Linked DNA regions of Homo sapiens: regions 1, 2 and 4 are each linked to region 3. Evidence: promoter capture Hi-C in human tissues and cell types (Jung and others, 2019). All regions are on one chromosome and are shown on one strand. The core of a region is centred on a gene start or on the middle of the fragment in contact, and the rest is flanking DNA. Distances in the headings are between cores, read along the strand shown.

Region 1 (4,666 bases), core at 1,004-3,503, 49 kb after region 3:
GGCAGTGTCTGCAGGTTTCTCCATAAGTTTCTCCATACTTATTGTTAATAAGTGACCTATGGGGAGATGCTTGGAGACATTATAAAATACCCTGTGCACCAGTCACTCCCCCCAGTGGTTTTAGTGTCTACTGATGACTCCATTCAAGTATGTTATTGTTCTGTGGTTGCTTCCAGGCTTTTAAATGTGTTCTTTGATTCAGCCTGCAGCAGGCTGTTAGGGAAGGCTCTTCCTTCCTAACACAGAGTCCCAAAACACTGGGCTTCAAGGGAGGTGGTGGTATATCCCTGTCTACAAAATATTTTGTGCACTTCCTTTTTCCTGAGCAAGATATAAGGTATTCTGGGCATGTTTTGTTAGGACACCTCTTTTTAAGACCTGAAGGTCTTATGGAAAATGGCAGCCTTCCGTTTTAGCTGTCAAAGTCTACAGGCTTTAACTGTGCTGGCTGGTGGCTGGAAGTGGGTCCAGGCAACAGTTCAAAGTCAGAAGCCTGAGATCTGTGTCCTTCAGAGGGCTGGTGGCAGCTTGTGCCTGGGCATCTCAGCCCTGGAGGGGAGTCAGGAAGGAGCCCCTGAAGGGGCGAGCCAGTAGCTGACTCTGGGCCAGTCCAAGGCCCCCACACACGACCCAGGCCCAGGCCCTGCCTCCCTATGGTGACCATGCTGCTGAGCTGAACTCCAAGGGCTGCTGCTCCTCCAGCACTATGGTGAGGGAGAACTTGATCTTTTTTGAGATGGAGTCTCACTGTGCTGCCCAGACTGGAGTGCCATGGGGTGATCTCAACTCACTGCAACCTTCCAGGTTCAAGTGATTCTCCTACCTCAGCCTCCTAAGTAGCTGGGACAACAGGTGCTTGCCACCACACCCGACTAATTTTTGTATTTTAGAGACAGGGTTTCACCATGTTGGCCAGGCTGGTCTCGAACTCCTCACTTCAGGATTTGATCTTCTTAGGCACTGTGGGCCTCTCCTCCCTCTACTTTCCCTTTGGCCCTCACCCATTCTCTGCCATCTGTGCTCTCTTATTCTGCAGTGGTGGCCACCCTTCCTCCACTCTGTGGCCCCGGGACCCTCTCCTTCCTCCCCTCCAGTGTCAGATCAAGGGAGGCCACATGGAGACTGCCCATGGCTGACCATGCCCTAGAGGGTCTCACCCCAGTCACAGAGCAGACTCCTGTGGGGAGCTATGCCAGGCACCTCCCCCAGGGTTTCTGCTTTAACTCCTTGCGGGGAGGCCCAGGCATTCATCGCTTTCAACCTGCACAGGTGATTCTAGAGTCAGACAGGAAGTTGTCAAGGGCCATGGATTAAAAGGTCAAAGCACAAGCTCCATGAGACAAGGGACTAATCTCTCCTCAGTCTAAAAGTCACATCAAAGATTTAGCAGTCAAGGATGGGGGAAAATTCTGCTGTGCATTTATTTTAATTCCCTACCAGGGCAGACCTGGAGGTTTTCTTTGGGATCCCACCAAGCCCTGCTTGAGCTGAAAAGCAAGAAGCACAGGTAGCAGGTAAATTCAGGTGCTCCTTGGAGCAGCTGTTAAGCTGGGGCTATGAGGCACTGCCTGGATCCAAGTCTCTAAAACAGAACAATTGCACTAAGATATTAAGAATACACACACCCACATCTTACCAAATGTTTTCATTTTCACAAGAAAAACACCATGTGCTGAGTCTTAGCTGCAAATCCTGTGAAAATCCCAGAAGGCATGGCTCACAAGTTCAGACGTGTATCACATGCACATTACAGAAGGCGAGGCTTCTCTAAGCCCCAGGGCAGGTGGGTAATAGAGACCAGCACTGCAGCAAATTCCAACATGCATCCAATCATGGTCTCAGTTGGCTACCTGGCTGTGTTGAGAAGCCAAACTCTCAGCAAATGTTACTCATAATTTGCAAGTCAGAAGTCTCCATTCCCACCCTCTGGTTGTGCTGACCCAAATCCCGCTGGCCAGGCAAGAGTCCAAGGGCTGTGTGGAGATATGGGGCCAGGAGAGCTGTGGCAGAAAGGTCATCCTATTATTATGTAGGTTTCTTTCTAACATAGCCACCATAGTGTTCAGGAAATTTAATTCCACATCACCCCGAGACTGTGAGAACTAGTGAAAAGAGGTCCTGATGGAGGGCAAGGGAGTGGGGAGGACTTGGATTGGGCAAGGCTGGGAATAAAGAGGTAGAGGCAGGAATGGAGGGTGGGGCAGAAAAACAAAGGTTTTTAAGCTAACTTGCTATTTACCTGCACCCGGTCCTCTTATATGTGCTGCCTCATTTAACCTTCAAACAACCCCAGGTGACATTTCCCCGGTCTTATAAATATTAAAACAGAAAACTGAAGACAAGCACATCCTTCACAGTTAGGCAGAAAGGGGATGCAAACCAAGTCTGTTCCTTTTCTGCAGAAGTGGGAAGTGTGCCAAGTGCAGAAACAGGGGTCTAGAAGACCCAGGAGGAGGCAGATAGGGGAACTGGGAAGGGAGGGACCCCTGCAAAACCAGGAACCCCACATGCATCAAGCCAGAGCCTGAGGAATGAGGGAGGCCCTCGTGTTTGCTTTGCCAACTGCGGTACAAATAACAGGAAAATAACCTGGCCTATCTTTATTTGTAAGCATCCAGATATTCTGGCAATCGTTTATGTAACCCTCAGCTTACACTTGCTTCTCAGTGACATTAAACTCAAGTCCTAAGATCAGAAGAGCTAAATCAATGACAAAACATGCTCAGGGTTTTGGTGGTGATACTTCAAGGAGAAGAAGAAGTTAGTGCAGAGAATACACTTTTTAATGATATGATCAGTGGTGGGAATCAAAATCTTACCCCGAAGGAGTTTATTAAAACAAGTAACTGATGTTAGAAAATGTTCTTTCTAGCTCCTTGCAGAATCCTTTGGGGATTCTGAAGCAAATTTCTTAAGCAGTCTGAATTCTCAAAATTTAGTCCAACATTCTTCATTAACAGGCCTGGGTAAATGCAAGCTTCATCTCTTCCAGAATTTAAATTTCTCCTTATGAGAACAGAAGAGGGTAGAATAAAGGAGTTTATTGTCAGCCCACACTCTCGTACTTAAAACTCAGGGCAGAAATCTCAGGCTGGCACCATTGCCACTTCACTTGGATGGAGAGCAGCATCTGGAATATGTTAGAAAAGGCCTTGCTGTGCTGCAGAAACCGGAACATGGGGCTTGGTCCAGGACTCAGCCCGGAATTGGCTAAATACACAACACTTTTGTAAAACGGCATTGACATAGGCTTTTGTTTCTCCTCTGCTTCGAACCCCACGCACGCCCATTTGGTGCCCAGCCTGACACCCACCCCCGCACCCCCACATAGGTGATCCGGACTTGGCTGCTGGGGCTGCAGGGATGCCAGCCCGTCAGGCAGGGCTCCCCCTGAGGACTGGAGGGGTTCCCTCAGCCCCCTCGCTTCCTGGGCTGCATTGAGAGGGCCGGTGTTGCCTTCTTTTCACTTCCTCACTGAGAGACTGGAAAAGGGCCAGACCTCTCCCACCCCTCGGGAGGAAGTTCAGTTCTTTTCCTTCCCTCTTTCACTTCCCCCTGCCAAGCCTGGAGCACGCGAAGGACCGGCCGAGGGTGGGCAGGCCCTGCCCTGTGCTCACCAGCGGCTGGGCAGTCTGGGCGGAGGAGGGCACCAGCAGGAGAGAGGTCCTACAACTCGGAGTTCGGAGTTCGGCAGAAAGGCCTCCCCGGGAGGGGCTGGGAGCTCCCCAAGCAAGGGCAGGCACTTCCCCTCCCTTTGGCCACTTGGCCCTGGAGGGCTTCTTTGGAGATAAATCCCACAGAAGGGGAGGGGAAATTATGTAACTCAGGGAAAAACGCTATGTGGAGTCCCATGTACTCACAATCTCTCTGGAGGAAACCAGGCTTCACCGTCGCCAGGTGACAACGAAATGCCCTAACCCCGGGCTGCCAGCAGCACAGGGCCATGGAATCCAGGGAGAAACAAGCTCTGAGCTGAGGGGTGTGTAAAATGGAGGTTCTGATTCGGTAGCTCCGGGGCGGGCCTGAGCTCTGCATTTCTGATGCTCCCAGGGATGCTGATGTTGCTGGTCTGGGGACCGCTCTGAGGTCAGGGCTGTGGAGGGCAGGCACCAGGCTGAGCAGCGGCACTGCTGGTGCTGAGTCAGCTCTTCCCTCAGCCCCTGAGGTCTGGAGTGCTTCCCGTTGGGAGATTTACTAGTTTTCTTGCTTGGCTACCCGGCATTAACAGGTACGGTAAATGGGAATACATGGCTACAGTTGAGTTCTAGTGGGCGAAATGTCCAGTTACATGTTAGCTGCAACCCTTAACAAGCAGAAGTGAATAATCTATTCGGCTACTCCACAACACAGAATGTGTGCCTATGTTTCGTATGATAGCACGAAAGTAATGCCTTAGAATTACTAATGACTCTGAAGCCTCCAGTTATTTTAAAGGTGCCGTCCTAGTTATCTCTTGGAAATACATTGAGAAAAAACAACCCTTTCACAGCAGCCCAGTGACCTTTCTACAAACTTACGCTTGTGAAGGAATCTTTAATATTTTAGATCCTTAGCCAAATGTAACATTTTACTTTAATTTTCTGGACTGGACATTTGCAGCTTTAATGTTTAATTTTGGGGGGCCAAGTCATGTCTAAACGGGCTTCTTCTTTGAGATCCCCCCTTT
Region 2 (4,495 bases), core at 1,451-3,950, 63 kb before region 3:
ATTATTTAGCCAATTCCTGAGAATTGATTAAGATTTTCCCTAATTTTTAGCTACTATGGACAGGGCTATAATGAATAGTCTTATTTCTATATGTGTTATGTCTGATTTTTGTTTCCTTCTAGGCAAGGTTCTCAGAAATGGAATTAGTCATCCAATATTTTTTCACCTCTTAAAAATTTTAATATACATTGCTAAAATATCCTCTAGGGTTGATCTTGATAATTGGGTTATTCAGGTCCTCTGTTTCCTGATTGTTTTCTGTCTACCTTGGCTGGTCCGGAAGTTAAGCAATTACTTAGTCACCTCTCTGGCAAACCTGATGCCCACTCTCTCTGTTTGCACCACTGGCACACACAGGCTCCCTCGTCCCTGGATTCCCCCTCCCGCCCAGGTGCAGAAGCCTGGACTCAGTTCTGCAAGGCACTGTCTGGGTTGCTGGTGGCGTGTCCTATTTTCTCCCCAAAACTGTTCCTACACCTTTATATCTTACACAACTTCTTCTCTACTTGATGCTATCATTCAAGTTTACACTGACTTCATAGAAGTATTCTTACTTTATATTTTTATTCTAAATGAAGATTTTAGGAGAGAGGAGGGAAACAGTGTTCTCATTCCCATGCATGGATCCTGAAACCCACATGTTCTGCAGGACTCTGGTATGAGAGCTACTTGTTTCCTTCCAGCCCTACAGCTGCAAGCTTTCCTCCTTGGTTGCTGGCACATTTTTATTTCCCCAAGGGGTGCAGGACCTGGTAATATTCTTGCAATGTTGCATTCCCTGGGTAGGACTGTCTGTGCAGCATGGGGTCTCTGTAGGCTACAGGGAGTCCATGTGGCTGGATGAGAGTCAGGGCTGGAGATGGGGATTTTCCAATAATAACCTGTCCTTGGGCTCTGATCCTTGCTCTCCTGGAGTGAATAAAGCCACACCCATGATGGCTCAGATCACAAGAGGTGAACTGATGAGGACTCCTCTGGTGAGGGGGCTGGATCCTCTGTTTTCTGATGAGGCGTGGCTGACTCAGACAGATTAGCCCTGCTGAATCTAACTCCTGCCTGGAAATAGGAACTTCTGCTTTTGTTTCCTTCTTTTTAAAATAGAAACTGACTATTCTTTTTGTCTCTTTCAGGTGGTTTTTTGTACTTTTATTGTTGCATCTAAACCATGGAAATTTGAACTCACCATGCTGAAGAAACAATGCAAAGATATGTAGTTATCTTCTAGTGTGTTCTGCCACACTCATTTCCATTTTAAAGAAGAAGCAAAGACACTTGCAAGAACTAGAACAACACAGTTAACCCATTAACTTCATTTGTTTGGCCTTTTTGCATTTTTGTGTGTTCTTCATGGGCTGATGTTGAAAATCCATGATGTGTTTTGACAGCATTGCATAGCCTATTCTTGCTGGATACTTCCCCTACTAGCTGGGATAATCTGCTGCAATAAATGGAAGTGGTTTCTACACCTCACCCAACTCTGAGTACAAATTACTTTTCATGGACAAATCTTTCTAGATAACCAGAGGACCCAGCCCTCAATTGCTTCAAGCATGCTGGCACTCTCTGTAAGGCTCTGAGAGTCTGGCTGCCTTGAGAGTTTCCGTCCATGGATTTCTACGGAAATCTCCCTTCCCAGGACTTTTTGGAAGACACAGCCTGTTAGCTTAGAAAGTTAGTTTTAACCAGATCCAACCAGAGAGACAGCTGGGCCATTTAGAGATTTTCATTGGTTTTGAATTGAAGCAGAAAAGTTAATGATGCAGGGAGAGAAGACTACATTCGTGTGTGTGTGTGTGTTTGTGTGTATGCACACGTGTGCATGTCTGTGCATAAGTGTGTGCTCACAGTTAGATGTATCAGTTAATGCTGTATGACAAGTCACCTGGTCACTTAATGGCTCAAGCAATTGATTTATATGTCTCATGGTGTCTGTGAGTCAGGCATCTCTGGATGGCCAGACTGGGCAGCTCTGGTTGTCACATCTCATTGGGTTACACTCTGATATTGACTGTGCTGCCATTATTTAAAGGTTTGATGGACTCTGGAGAATCCTTTCCAAGGTAGCTCACTCCCATGCCTGCAGGTTGATAATGGTTATTGACTGAGGTCTCTGTTCTCCACGTGGCTTCTCCACAAGACTGTACGTCAGCTTGGTATCCTGGATGACTTGTTCCAGACACAGTGTTCCCAGAGACCAAGATGGAAGCCACTGTATCCTTTGTAAACTAGACTCAACCCAGAACAGCCCTGGCTCAGTGTGGACTACACAACGACATAAAGATAGAGATTAGGGTCACTGGAGGCCATCTGGGAGGCCAGCCACTACAGTGTGTACACATGTGTGCATGTGTGCGCATGCATGTGTATGGAGAGTGGACTAAGGTGATACCATGACCGTAAAGAGGCACTTTTGAAATCCTGATGCTTAGACAGCAGCACCAATGTGCAGGCTGGGGCAAGGAGACAATATTGTGTAATAACCAGTAGTAATACAGGGTCAGATTCTAACTTAGACACATGACGGAAGGATGGTGATGCTCAGAGGCCACCTGCATGACAGCTGTCCTTGAGGGCTCTTCTCCGACAGGGCTGACTGCAACCTTCTGAGCCTCTCTGCCTAATGGCTTTCTCTGCCAATGAAGGGCAGGCTGGAGTGCCAGTGGGTAATACCCTTGAGAGGAGCCCTCAGCCAATGATAGAATTTGGAGGATAAACATCCTGGCCTTTTATCCCCTGGGATATAACGCCAAGTTGTGTCTACCCAGTCACTGAGGAGTGTCCTGCAAGACTGAGCCCTAGCTATCCATATTGCTAATCTCACTATCCGTGCTGCTTCTGCCCCTTACTATTTCCACTTTTCAACTGCCTTTCTGGAATCATTTCTAAATAAGCCACTTGTACTTGAATTTTTTGTCTCCAAGTCAGCTTCTGGAGGAGCCAACTTGATAGTGGAACCCAGATCTACTGTAAATGGCACCCTGAGACCCCCAGGGGCTTGCCTGGCTGAGATCAGAAATCAGGATACCCTTTACCTTGACAACGGAAAAACCAAATTCTGCCAAAATATTTAAAGAGGTTTATTCTGAGCCATATGAGTGACCAAGAAAGGGAAACACAGTCTCAAGAGGTCCTGAGAAAGTGTGGCTGAGGTGGTCCGGTTACAGGTTAGTTTGAAGCATGTCATGGAGCCAGGAGTTGCAGGTAAAATTATAAATCAATACATGGAAGGTATATATTGGTTTGGTCCCAAAAGGTGGGACATCTCAAGGCATTGGCTTACAAGTTTTAGGTGGGTTTAGGGATTCTTTAGTTTGAAATTGGTAGAAAAAGTTAAGCTTTGTCTAAAACATGGAGTCAGTAGAAAGGAATGCTAAGGGGCTCTACTATCTGTCAGGTGATGCCATGCCAGAGTCAGGTTGGAAAACAAGTCACAATGTACTGGGTCAGAAAGGACCTTTTTGATGAAATTTTATGGTTTGCAAGGCATGATTCCTCAGGTCCTTAAACAGGAATTTCAGAAATAAAGAAAAAAAGGTAAGAGGTCAGTCCTCAACCTGCACTCTCTAACATCTGCCAGCAGTTGAGCTCTTGGGTGGCGGGCAGGTGAAGTGGCGTTCTTCATGGCCCCGCACAACCCTGGGCCCCTTTCTTTCCCATGTGCTGGCAGGGTTGTGGGGACACTGTCAGAGCAGTTCTTGTTCCATTCTCTCCCTGCCTCAGGAATGGGATCCCTATGCTACTAGCTGCAGCACCTGAGGACACATCTCTCTCATCTACCCTCGCCTTCATCCCCAAGCTCCGTGGGTATGCAACCTGTCCATCTGGGGGACTTGGTCTCCCTTGCTTCTTGGCCTGAGCTGGCCAGCCCTATGTGGTCTCATGAGCAGCCCATGGAGGAAGGTGTTCTTTGCTGAGCCCTGACAGTGTGATTGAACATTGGAGGGACCTGGGTCTTCACATGTCCCGGGCTGCTTGTTTCCATCATACTCATACCCCATGTTGTCTTAGGGCATACCAAACCCTACTGCCCACATCTAAGGTCAGTTTTGTTAATGTGATCTGTGCATGGGTTCAGGTTTAGCTCTTCAAAACCATCTGGCCTCTGTTGACCCACTGAGTCAGAGTCAGGATGAAGAATTAAGATCAAGACAGTTTCACTGACTCATGGAATTTTTGAGTTTATTGACTAACAGCAATATTTTTATATGAGCATGAAAGGAAATGGAATGTGTGGACATAGAGGCTCCTGAGACACCTCTAAATTGTCTCCTTCTCTACCAAGGCCGTGTTAGCCTTGGCCACACCAGGAAGGACACAGACATATATCAAAGAGGCTTCATGCAGTGTAGCTTGCCCTTCCACCTTCTACCACGTGAGGACACAGCAGGGAGGCCCTCACAAGATGCTGGCACCTTGGTCCTGGGCTTCCCAACCTCTAGAGCTGTGAAAAATAAATTTCTGTTTCCTGTAAATTAACCAGCCTGTGTTATTCTGT
Region 3 (5,021 bases), core at 72-2,571:
CCAGCATGAATATTAGCAGCCACCATTACTGGACCAGATGCCCCTCTGAGGGTTGCATCAGGCTTTTAATTCTCCTGAGAGGAGGCAGCAAATGAGCAAGGAGGAAAATTCCTCTGTACCAGCATTGGAATCCTGAGGATGGCAGTGAGGAATCCACCCCAGGAGGCAGAGAACCAGCCAGAGCCTTGCACAGAGTCTTTCCAGAGCTTAAGCTCTGTGCGGTACTAGAGTCCCTCTGCCTTTCTTTCAGGCTCTTGGTGCTGAGAAAGGAAGAGCAATGCTCCTTCTCTCTCTAAACCAGAAGTTCTCCACTAGGAGGGCATTTTAATTGTTCATGCCTGAAGCCCAGATGAACTGTGCATTCCTGACCACATTTAATGATTTCATCAAAAAGGCAAGCATTTTAGGATAAAGGTCCATTGAGGAAGAGTGTAAATTGGCCTTCAGTTCATTAAGTGCAGACAGAGCAAGGAGCCCAGAGAAGGTGGAGATCAGAGAACTAACCTTTCACGGTGGCCTCTCAGGGCTGATGGTGTTCTTTATTGCCCTCGAATTCTCACTGTTCTCTCTCTGTCTGCCTGTCTCTCTCTCTCTCTGTCTCTCTCTCTCTGTCTGTCTGTCTCTCTCTGTCTCTCTCTCTCTCTCCCTCTGTGTGTCCTTGCTTTTCCATTTTCATTTTATGACCTGGAAATGTTTATCAGTCTCTTTGGTTATTTTCTCTTCTTGTCAGCTTCATCTCCTTAGAAGTCCTTATTTTGAAGTCACTCTTCAGTTATACAATGTCTTAAAAATCATGAAGATTGAAAAATATATTTTGCATGTGAATAGACATTTACCTAATTTAAAAAAAATTTTAAGTTCAATGTTTTCCAAAACTAAAACTACCGTAATTGGTTGTGGACTACCTGACTATGGACTGCTGATGGTGAACCAAGTCTCCTAGACTAGACATCTTGGTCCCTCACTTAGGGGCAGATGGAGAAGGACAGGCCAGAAGAGGATGTGGTCACCAACCTTTCTGTCCATGCTATCCTCCCTCCATGAACTCAGGACGCGCAACAGCCTGTAGGCATGCTCCTCCTTGCTCTGCACGTTGAAAGTGTTCAAGGCAAACTCCACTGTGGCGAGGAACATAGGATCCTGGACTATTTTATTATTACCACCCATTTCCTCTTCAGAACACCAGGCATAAGTCACCAGGAGCTGGAAGCCCATGAGAAGCAGTGACAGTGCCCAGGGCATAGCCTTCCTCCTCTGCGGACTCGACATGATGCAGGCTCCAGCAGCCCTTGCCTTTGCCCTTCAGATCCCTGGCGTCCACTGGAGCCTTCCAGGGCTCAGGTCTGGCCTTTAAATTCACCTGCTGGGGCAGAAACTCCTCCCTCCAGGCCTCACCTCTGCAGTTACACCCTGTCTCTCCCACACATGGCCTCCCTTCTTCCAAAGGCGTTTAAATCATCTCCTGTTTAGGGGAGAGGAACAGCACCCAGGCAGGTGGGTTGGAAAAGACTAGCAATGGGAGAGATAGTGCCCTGAACATGAGGCCCAGCCCCAGCTGCCCCAGCACCTCCGCAGGCTAAAGGAGACCTCTACTGGGCGCCCCAGAGTCAGAGCCCGGCACAGGAACACAAGTGTGAGAGGTATGAGTGGAAGGTGAGCCCTGGACTCAGCAGTGGGGGTGGGCTGGGAGGGGGAGGTTAGGTGGAAAGGCAGAGACAAAAGGATGGAAAGGGATGACAGTGGATGCTAGTATCATGGGTGAGCAGGTACAGCGCCCCGAGAAAGCACTGGGCCTCTTGAGAGAGAGGCGGGGAGCCCGGGAGGATTGGCGGGATGTCCTGCAGGTGTCTGCTCCCCCGAGGGTCTCGGGAGGGGGGCACCAGCCTGGGGGTCGTGGGCAGAGGTTGAGGAAATCAAGAGCAGGAGCCCCCAACCCTGTTCTCTGCACCTCCCTAAATGCAGCTTCCCAGCCCAGGGACGCGCTGCCAAGTGCTGGTACTAGGGGCCTGGCTAGTTATGGCTGCCCCTATTCCTCAAAGGTGTTTCCAGGACGGGTGGCCGCTTGCAATTGGAGCAGTGGAGAACCAGAAAGACGAAGATGCCCTCAGGGATGGCTGAAGTGCACCCATTAGGTTGTCACGGGTTCCCTCCTGTGGCCACAGCCGGCACAGCACTCTGCGGCACAGTTTGTGGGTGGAGATTCTGAGTTCTCGACCAAGACCCACATAGCCTCCAACTCCAACCGCAAATGGGGCTCTCAAAAGACTGAATAATGCACTCTTCACAGACCAGACTTAAGCTTTGTCCCTGTGAAATATGCCTTTGATGTTTATCCGTAGCTCCTTGTAAACTTCAGAAGCAACCAGCATCCCCTGATGTCACGTTAAAAAGCAAGTTCCTAGTTTCCCCACCCAAAGATTCTGACCCAGTAGCTGTGAGCAGGGCCAGGGAAACTACATTTCTCACCAGCTTCCAGAGGATGGTTGTGTTCCCGGTCTCAGAACCATACTTTGAGTGGTGCAGGTTCAGAATACTTCCTGGGAAGTGCATACAGACCAAACCACATATGAGAAGTAACTCAGCTTGAGGGGCATGGAGGTCAGGGGATGAGAATGGCTTTTGTGGGGCACACAGGATGGGGGACAGGCTTAGACAGCATGCCTGGTGATAAAGAATAAGAGTTTGTTTCTAGACCCTGTTTGCAAAGAAAAAGCAACTCAATGTGACAATTCCAGGAAAGCAGCCAGATGTGCCAAAAACATCACCCAAGGAGTCTGTATCCTTTCTCTGATGGCGTTGAGTTCACTGGAACTGCAGCTGAAGCGTAACTAATGTGGTTTCTTAGCTGGAGAGTGATGGTGCACGTAGGGGTAGGAAGGGGGTGTCAGTGAGGGCGGAAATGCCTTTGTGGGTTTTGGGATGAGCAGGCCATAAGGTGCTGTGAGAACTAGAATCCTGATGCCTGGAATAGGTTGCGAGTGTCCTGAGAGAGGCCTGCAATGCCCATGGAGGTCACTCTCACCTTGTAAGTTCAGCGGCTGACAAACTTGGGGCATCCTGCCAATTGCCAGTGGCTCCCCCACCATTCTGAGGGCCGATACCCACATGTGCTCCAAGGGAGTGCCCACACTCACTCTTACATGAGCAGTGGTTTAGGGTCCTGGGCACCAGCTCTGTCCTCACTGTGCAGCCAAGGAGGGGACAGGGATCCCCACACCCAGATGTGAGACCACGGGTGTACAGACACCATGGACCCTTACAAGTGTGTCTATTTTCTTGTTGAATCCCCAGTGGCCTGGGATGGCCTCACTTCCCAGGTGGAGAGAGACGGGAATATCAAGACATAGCCAGGTAAAGAGAAATACATGTGGGCTCCAGGCTGAGGAGCCCCGAAGACGTGGGTCAACATGTTGCCGAGGCCAGAGTGAAACCGGACGGCCCGGAGGGGCTGGCTGGCCAGCCCACAGGCACAGCTCACAGCTCTCTGCAGGGCTATCCCCAGGTCTCAGGTCTGGGAGGCTTTCTCTCCTGAGTCCCCTTGCAAGAGTTCTGTCTCACTCAGCTTCTTCCTGGGCACTCGTTGGCCTGTCTGTCTCTGGGGCCACCGGGACTTGTCTGGTGCTCTCTTTGTGTTGCTGGCACTGGCACCGAACACCCATGTGGTCTCATAGGAAGGTCCCAGTAACTCCTCACTGAAATGGACCTGCTTTTCCAGAAACGAGGCCCTGTATTTCTGAACGCATTCCTTTGAATGATTAGAGAATGCTGGCAACGACCAGGACCAAGCCACTGGCCCTTTTCTGTGAAGCTGAACATGAGGCGGTGGACGAGGGGAAGCCCAGTGACTCTTCGGGACACAGGACGCTCTCCCCAGCTCCCGCAGACCCTCCAGCTGAGTGCTCTCCCCGGGGTCGGACTCATGTCCCTCACTGCCCGGCCTACTCAGCCACATGCTCTAAAGGTCCCGTGCGACCTTGCTCACTGCCTGTTTCAAGCTGGGCCAGGCTCAGCGGGGCCTGCCAGTTTCAGGATCGCCTGCTGGGCTTTGGGATCACTTCCTCGGGACCCTCCCCATTCCCCCTGCTTGGCATTTCCCTAGGAGACTCCCCAGACAAGCCAGCATTCCCAGGGGTTTCCGTGTGCTGGAAAACAAGGTGGTGTCCAGGAGATCAAAGGAAGACAGCAGGGGCAGGGAGAAGCCCGGACTCAGAGCAGAGTGAGTGATCCAGTGATTGCTGTCATAGCAATCATCAAAGGGGCAGCTCGGGGCAGGGGGGTGAGCGGGGCTGGGTGGGGGTGCTGCCAGGGAATTCCAGAGCCCCCTCCACTCCTCCCTCCCCTCCTCCAGGTTTTCCACCTGGGGGGTTCTTCTTAGCTCAGTCTTCAGCTGACTTTGAGTTTTTATAATTTAAGGAATTAATCTCATATAGACTTATGGCAAATTTAAACTGAGAAAGAGGAATAATGATTGAATTAAAAAATGACAAAAGGAGAAATAAAAATACAAACATTACCGGTAAATATAGAGGCCTAAATCAGGGGTCATTCGTACCACATGCAAATCGGAAGGCCCATGGGCTGTTTCTTCTCCTTCCTGTGGGTCCAGCAGGTCCCTCACCCTGGCTAAGTCGGGGGTGCTGCCCTGGGCCCAGGAGCTTTGCTCTGAAGAGGAAGTGCTGCCCCAGTCACCCTCAGCAGCCCTCCTGTTTGCTGGCCTTTGCCGAACACACCTGCCTTCGCTCCTCAGTGGGCGTTTCCTCAGCTTCTGCTGTGCTCCCGACGGAAGCCTCTCCCATCCAACGCAGCCCATTGTTTTCTTTCATAAGTACTTTAGTTTTTAAAAAACTGTAAGTTAATTTAAATTTAAAACAGTACAAAAATGTCATAATACCACTTCTTTTTTATTTTTAAAATTTTCTGTAGAGATGGAGTCTCACTATGTTGCCCAAGATGTTCTCGAACTCCTGGCCTCAAGTGATCCTCATGCCTCAGCCTACAATTCCACTTTTACTAAGTGAAAT
Region 4 (5,015 bases), core at 1,126-3,625, 37 kb before region 3:
ATGTGAACACACCCTCCTTGTTGCCCCTAAGTAGCTGCTGGTGAAGATGTCATTTGTGTAGGAGAAGTCCCAACATTCTCCTCCATTAGGGAGCTTGCCCATGGGCCTGGCATCAGGAGATCTTCTTTAGATTGGGCAGTTAAGAACAAAAAGCGGATGGGCATGGTGGCCCCAGGGCAGACACCCATGAATGTATCCCTATTTCCAGATGCACTTCCCACTCTCCCATGGTGAGACCCCAGTTTCACTCTCAGTCAGTGTCTGAACCTGCAGCTGCATTTCCAGAGGATGGCGCTATGTGCCTGGGGAGGGGTTTGGCTCTCCAAGAGCTTTCAGGGTAACCTCAGCCCTGGGACAGAGGGAGCCTCATCTAGGGCATGTTGTCAAACCTTCCACCTGACCTGAGGAAAAAAAAAATGCAAGAATGCCACCCAGCACTCCCACTACACACAGGCATACATCCTTGGGACAATGGCTTCAAGAAACACCATCTGGGGCCGGGTGTGGTGGCTCACACCTGTAATCCCAGCACTTTTGGAGGCTGGGGTGGGTGAATAATGAGGTCGGGAGTTCGAGACCAGCCTGGCCAACATGGTGAAAACCCATCTCTACTAAAAATACAAAAGTTAGCTGGGCATGGTGGCAGGTGCTTGTAATCCCAGCTACTCGGGAGGGAGGCTGAGGCAGGAGAATTGTTTGAACCCGGGAGGCAGAGGTTGCAGGGAGCTGAGATTGTGCCATTGCACTCCAGCCTGGTTGACAGGGTGAGACTCCATATCAAAAGAAAGAAAGAAAGAAAGAAACACCATCTGCCCTATTGCAAAGTGCACCTTGATCTTCTCACTCCTTTCAGTTTCACTTCATTCCATCTCCTTTCTCCCTATCCGTCCATTTCCCCAACTCCAAAACTGACTCTGGAATTGTCACATCCAGGAACCCACGTGGCAGGCTCCAGCCCAGAGAGCAGGGGTCAGAGAACCAGCCAGGGCCTTGCACAGGGTCTTTCCAGAGGCTGAAGCTTGGTGCAGGGTTGGGGTCCTTTTGCTCTTCTTGCAAGGTTTCAGTAATGAGGTAGGAAGAGCATTTTTGCCTCTCTACCCAACTAGAAGTCCTCAACTTAGCTGGGTGCAGTGGCTCATGCCTGTAATCCCAGCACTTTGGGAGGCCGAGGTGGGCAGATCATGAGGTCAGGAGTTCAAGACCAGCCTGGCCAACATAGTGAAACCCTGTCTCTACTAAAAATACAAAAAATTAACCAGGCATCTGGCGGGTGCCTGTAATCCCAGTTATTTGGGAGGCTGAGGCAGGAGAATCACTTGAACCTGGGAGGCGGATCTTGCAGTGAGCGGAGATGACGCCACTGTACTCTAGCCTGGGTGACAGAGCAAGATTCCATCTCAAAAAAAAAAAAAAAAAAAAGTCCTCAACTTGGTGACTATTTTCATTGTTCATGCCTACAGCACAGATGAACTGTGCATTCCTGATTGCATTCTGTAGTGACTTCATTAAAAGGAGAACATTTAGGATTAAGACCTGTGGTCTGAGGAAGAGTGTGAAACAGTCTTCAGTTTATTAAGTGCAGACACACCAAGGAGCTCAGAGAAGTTGGAAATCAGCAAAGAGGAACTGACCACCCAGAGGTCTTTTGGGACTGGTGGGGGTTTCTTATTGCTCCTGAACCCTTACTGTTCTCTTTTTTAATTTTCATTTTTTAAATTATCTCTTTTTTATTACATTTTTTGGAAGTATTTCTCAATTTCTCTCTATTCACATTTTCTGTTCAGCCCTTTTCCTTATTCCGTATCTTCATTTTCTTGGTAGTCCTCATTTTGAAGTCATTCTTCAGTTAAATAATGTCATAAAAAGATGGAGATTAAACAATATGTTTTTCATGAGAGTTGATTAGGATCAAATTATTTGAAATTTCTAACTTAGATGTTTTCAAAATCAAAAACTAACTAAACTACCTTGTATTTTCTTAAGTATGGACTACAACTGGTGAACAAGACTCTTCAATAAGACCCCCTGTCCCCACCCCACTCCCATTTTTCACTGAGCAGCACATGCCAGATGCCAGGGCAGGAGGGTACGTGGTCACCAACCTGCTCCTTCCAGGAATTCAAGATGTGCCCCAGTCTGTAGGCATAGTAGTCCTTGCTCTGTTGGTTGAATGTGTGGACAGCAAACTCCACTGTGGCAGGGAGGTAACGAGCCATGACATTGTGTTCATCACAGTCCCTTTGCTCGTGGAAATGCCAGGCATAGATCAGCAGGATCTGGGAGCCTAAGAGAAGCAGCAGCAGCGCCCAGGACAGACCTCCCTTCCACGGCAGGCCCAGCATGGTGCTGACTGTAGGCACCGCTGACTTTGCTCTTCCCAGCCCCCGTGCCCACAGGAGTTAATTGAGCACAGACCCAGCCCTTAATCTTATCTGCTCAGACAGCCCTGTGGGACAAACTTGTCTCACCCCACACTGGCAACAGGCACTCCTACAGGACAGGAAGGACAGGATCCTGGATTAAAGGGAGGCAGCTCTGGATGTGGAGTCACTCATCTGCCATCCTTCTGCCCTATACTCTCTAGGCCAGCACAAGCCACAGGCAGGAGGGGAGCTACCCTCTGCCACTAGCTTTGAAGGCTGCTCCTTCAGAACCCACAGGTTCTGGTTGTCCTCAGGTGCTTGGTGTCCTTGGATGATTCTGTGCCTTCGCCTCCCACAGCGAACTGAGATAAGACCTGGGGACATCTCGACTCTCACTCTCCCCTCCTTCACCCCGTCGAAGAGAGGATCTCCGTTGTTCAGAAAAATAACTAAGATATCAGTTTGTTCTTTTGTTGTATAATACCTCAACAGTTGTACTCTGTGAACCAAGGGAAAAAATGAAAAAAATAAATGGCAATTTTTATCAACCATTTTGACCTGGGATGGACAATGAGTATTGTGAGAAAAGGGCAGGAAAGACAGAGACCCAAGTCCTGAGGCCCCAGCCTGGTCATGCCCAGCCCAGCCCTGCTTGCATTTCTAAACCTTGTCAGCCCTGGTTCCAGCTGAGCCAGAGCCAAGGTTTCTACAGGGCCCACCGCCCTACATCTGCAGCCCCACCACACACACTCATGTTTTATTAGACTGGAATATCATTCTAGACCAAATTTTTAAACACTTCTCTGGGAGATCACATGTTTCTGCCTCAGTGAGATAGAGGTTGGACCATTCTTCAGCCCCTTGATCATTTTTGTCTCCATCTGACCATCCTTCTTGGTGTTCTAGAGTGAGCTATTTTGCCAGCACTTAGGTGATACTAGGTGGTTACTTTTAAATCAATTTCCTGGCAATAACTAACCTGAAAGAGGAAATAATAATATTTTGTTGCTGTAAGAATGAACATTAAATAGTGCAGGACAGGTGAAGTATGCAAAAGTGAGAGCTTTGAGTTTGGCTGAGAAGACTATGGTGCTGCAATATAGGCAAGAACCTAGCATTGTTGCCAGATAACAGAATAGAAAGTTCAGTCCCAAGTCAGGGAGACTGATTCTACAAGAACTGTTCTGACTGTGTCCCATACCATGTTCCCAGATCACAGCAGGGCCAGGCCTGGGAAGAGCATCACTGCATCTGTCCACACTAGCACAGCACTGGCCAGGTCAAGACAGCTGCAGGTGAAGAGAGTCATGCTGCCTGACCCAACACTGGGGTGGTCCCGAGTGTCTCCTCACAGGAGACTTCACCCATCACAGACAGAAGAAAGTAGCTAGTGTGTGGGGAGCTGCTGCCCAGGAGCCATGTGCATCTTGATCTTCTGCCTTGACTCCAGGAAGTGGGTGACACAGAGTAGCTGAAACCTGTGTCCTGATTAGCAATGATAACAGGTGAAATCTGGCCCATTGCGTTGTTTCATGGGTTGTTTTTTTTTTTTTTTTTGACGGAATCTCTGTTGCCCAGGCTTGAGTGCGGTGGTGTGATCTTGGCTCACTGCTGCAACCTCCGCCTCCCAGGTTCAAGAGATTCTCCTGCCTCAGCCTCCTGAGTAGCTGAGATTACAGGCGTGTTGCACCATGCCCGGCTAATTCTTTGTGTTTTTAGTAGAGATGGGGTTTTGCCATGTAGGCCAAGCTGGTCTCGAACTTTCCTGGCCTCAAGTGGTCCTCCCACCTCAGCCTCCTAATGTGCTGGGATTACAGGCATGAGCTACTGTGTCCAGCCCCCATTGCACTGTCGAAATGTCACTGGTCTTCTGGATCACACCCAGCTGACCCATTCTTCTCATATTTATTTAACCTTGGCAAACAAACAGCTCAACCACACAACTATTTGCAAAATTATTTGTGAGATCTACTGGGTTGTGAAAGATTTTCACATGAGAAAGATTTTCAATCAAACACAACTCACAAGTCAAGGGATCCATGACACAAGATTCACACTTTCCTTTTCACTTGGCAAAGTCTTGCTTATAATTGTGAAGCAGAAGCCAGCACTGCAGGATTCCTTACCACTGCATGAGTTACACAAGAATGAAAACTTCTCATGGGTTCCCTAAAAACTGAGATTGGAAAATGACATAATAACAACAAAAATAATGGTGCAAATTGACATAGTTATATCTCATAGATGTGTCTTAGGTCTTTTCAAAGACAAGAGATAGGTCAAGAAAGACCTGAGGTGACCCTGAGCTTGCATCTCTGCCTGACTTCCAATCTCAGCACAAGCAAGGAACCTTGGCTAGGACAGAGGTGTGAGTGGCCTACGCATTGAAGGTGTGCCCCAATACACACACCAAGTGGGCTAGTTTTGGAAGGGTGTTGTTGTTGTTGTTACAGTTGTTTAGTGACTTTGACCACATGTAACAAGTAACACACTCTTCACAGAAATAGTTTAGAAAAGTCACTAAACAAAGACACAACTACAATCCACAGCAAGCAACAACAAATCTTAGGGAGAAAGCAGACTCAGACTCCTGGAGTTAACACAATTTAATATTTAAATAACCAGTTTTCCAAAAAAAATTATAAGGCATAC

The links. The method cuts DNA at HindIII sites, captures the fragments that hold promoters and counts their contacts. A contact is called where the count stands out against the background at its distance.
Region 1: a fragment that was not itself captured here is called in contact with the fragment with the promoter of CST9 in region 3 in 2 of the 25 tissues and cell types used here (hippocampus and ovary).
Region 2: a fragment that was not itself captured here is called in contact with the fragment with the promoter of CST9 in region 3 in 2 of the 25 tissues and cell types used here (H1 embryonic stem cells and dorsolateral prefrontal cortex).
Region 4: a contact is called between the fragment with the promoter of CST9L here and the fragment with the promoter of CST9 in region 3, in 1 of the 25 tissues and cell types used here (adrenal gland).

What each region holds. Positions count from the first base shown.
Region 1 is chr20:23,652,465-23,657,130 of GRCh38, forward strand. LOC124904965 (a long non-coding RNA gene) reads right to left here and starts at 4,080. Exons shown (of 2, transcript XR_007067748.1): 1 at 3,861-4,080; 2 at 2,762-3,130. The HindIII fragment of the contact is 6,534 bases long and covers 1-4,666 here.
Region 2 is chr20:23,540,544-23,545,038 of GRCh38, forward strand. It overlaps the pseudogene CST13P. Among named protein-coding and RNA genes, the nearest start is that of CST9L, 26 kb to the right of the region's middle. The HindIII fragment of the contact is 4,942 bases long and covers 230-4,495 here.
Region 3 is chr20:23,604,596-23,609,616 of GRCh38, forward strand. It overlaps CST9 (cystatin 9), which reads right to left and starts at 1,322. Exons shown (of 2, transcript NM_001008693.3): 1 at 1,015-1,322. The coding sequence starts at 1,269. The HindIII fragment of the contact is 5,555 bases long and covers 1-4,375 here.
Region 4 is chr20:23,566,109-23,571,123 of GRCh38, forward strand. It overlaps CST9L (cystatin 9 like), which reads right to left and starts at 2,376. Exons shown (of 3, transcript NM_080610.3): 1 at 2,103-2,376. The coding sequence starts at 2,342. The HindIII fragment of the contact is 10,231 bases long and covers 1-5,015 here.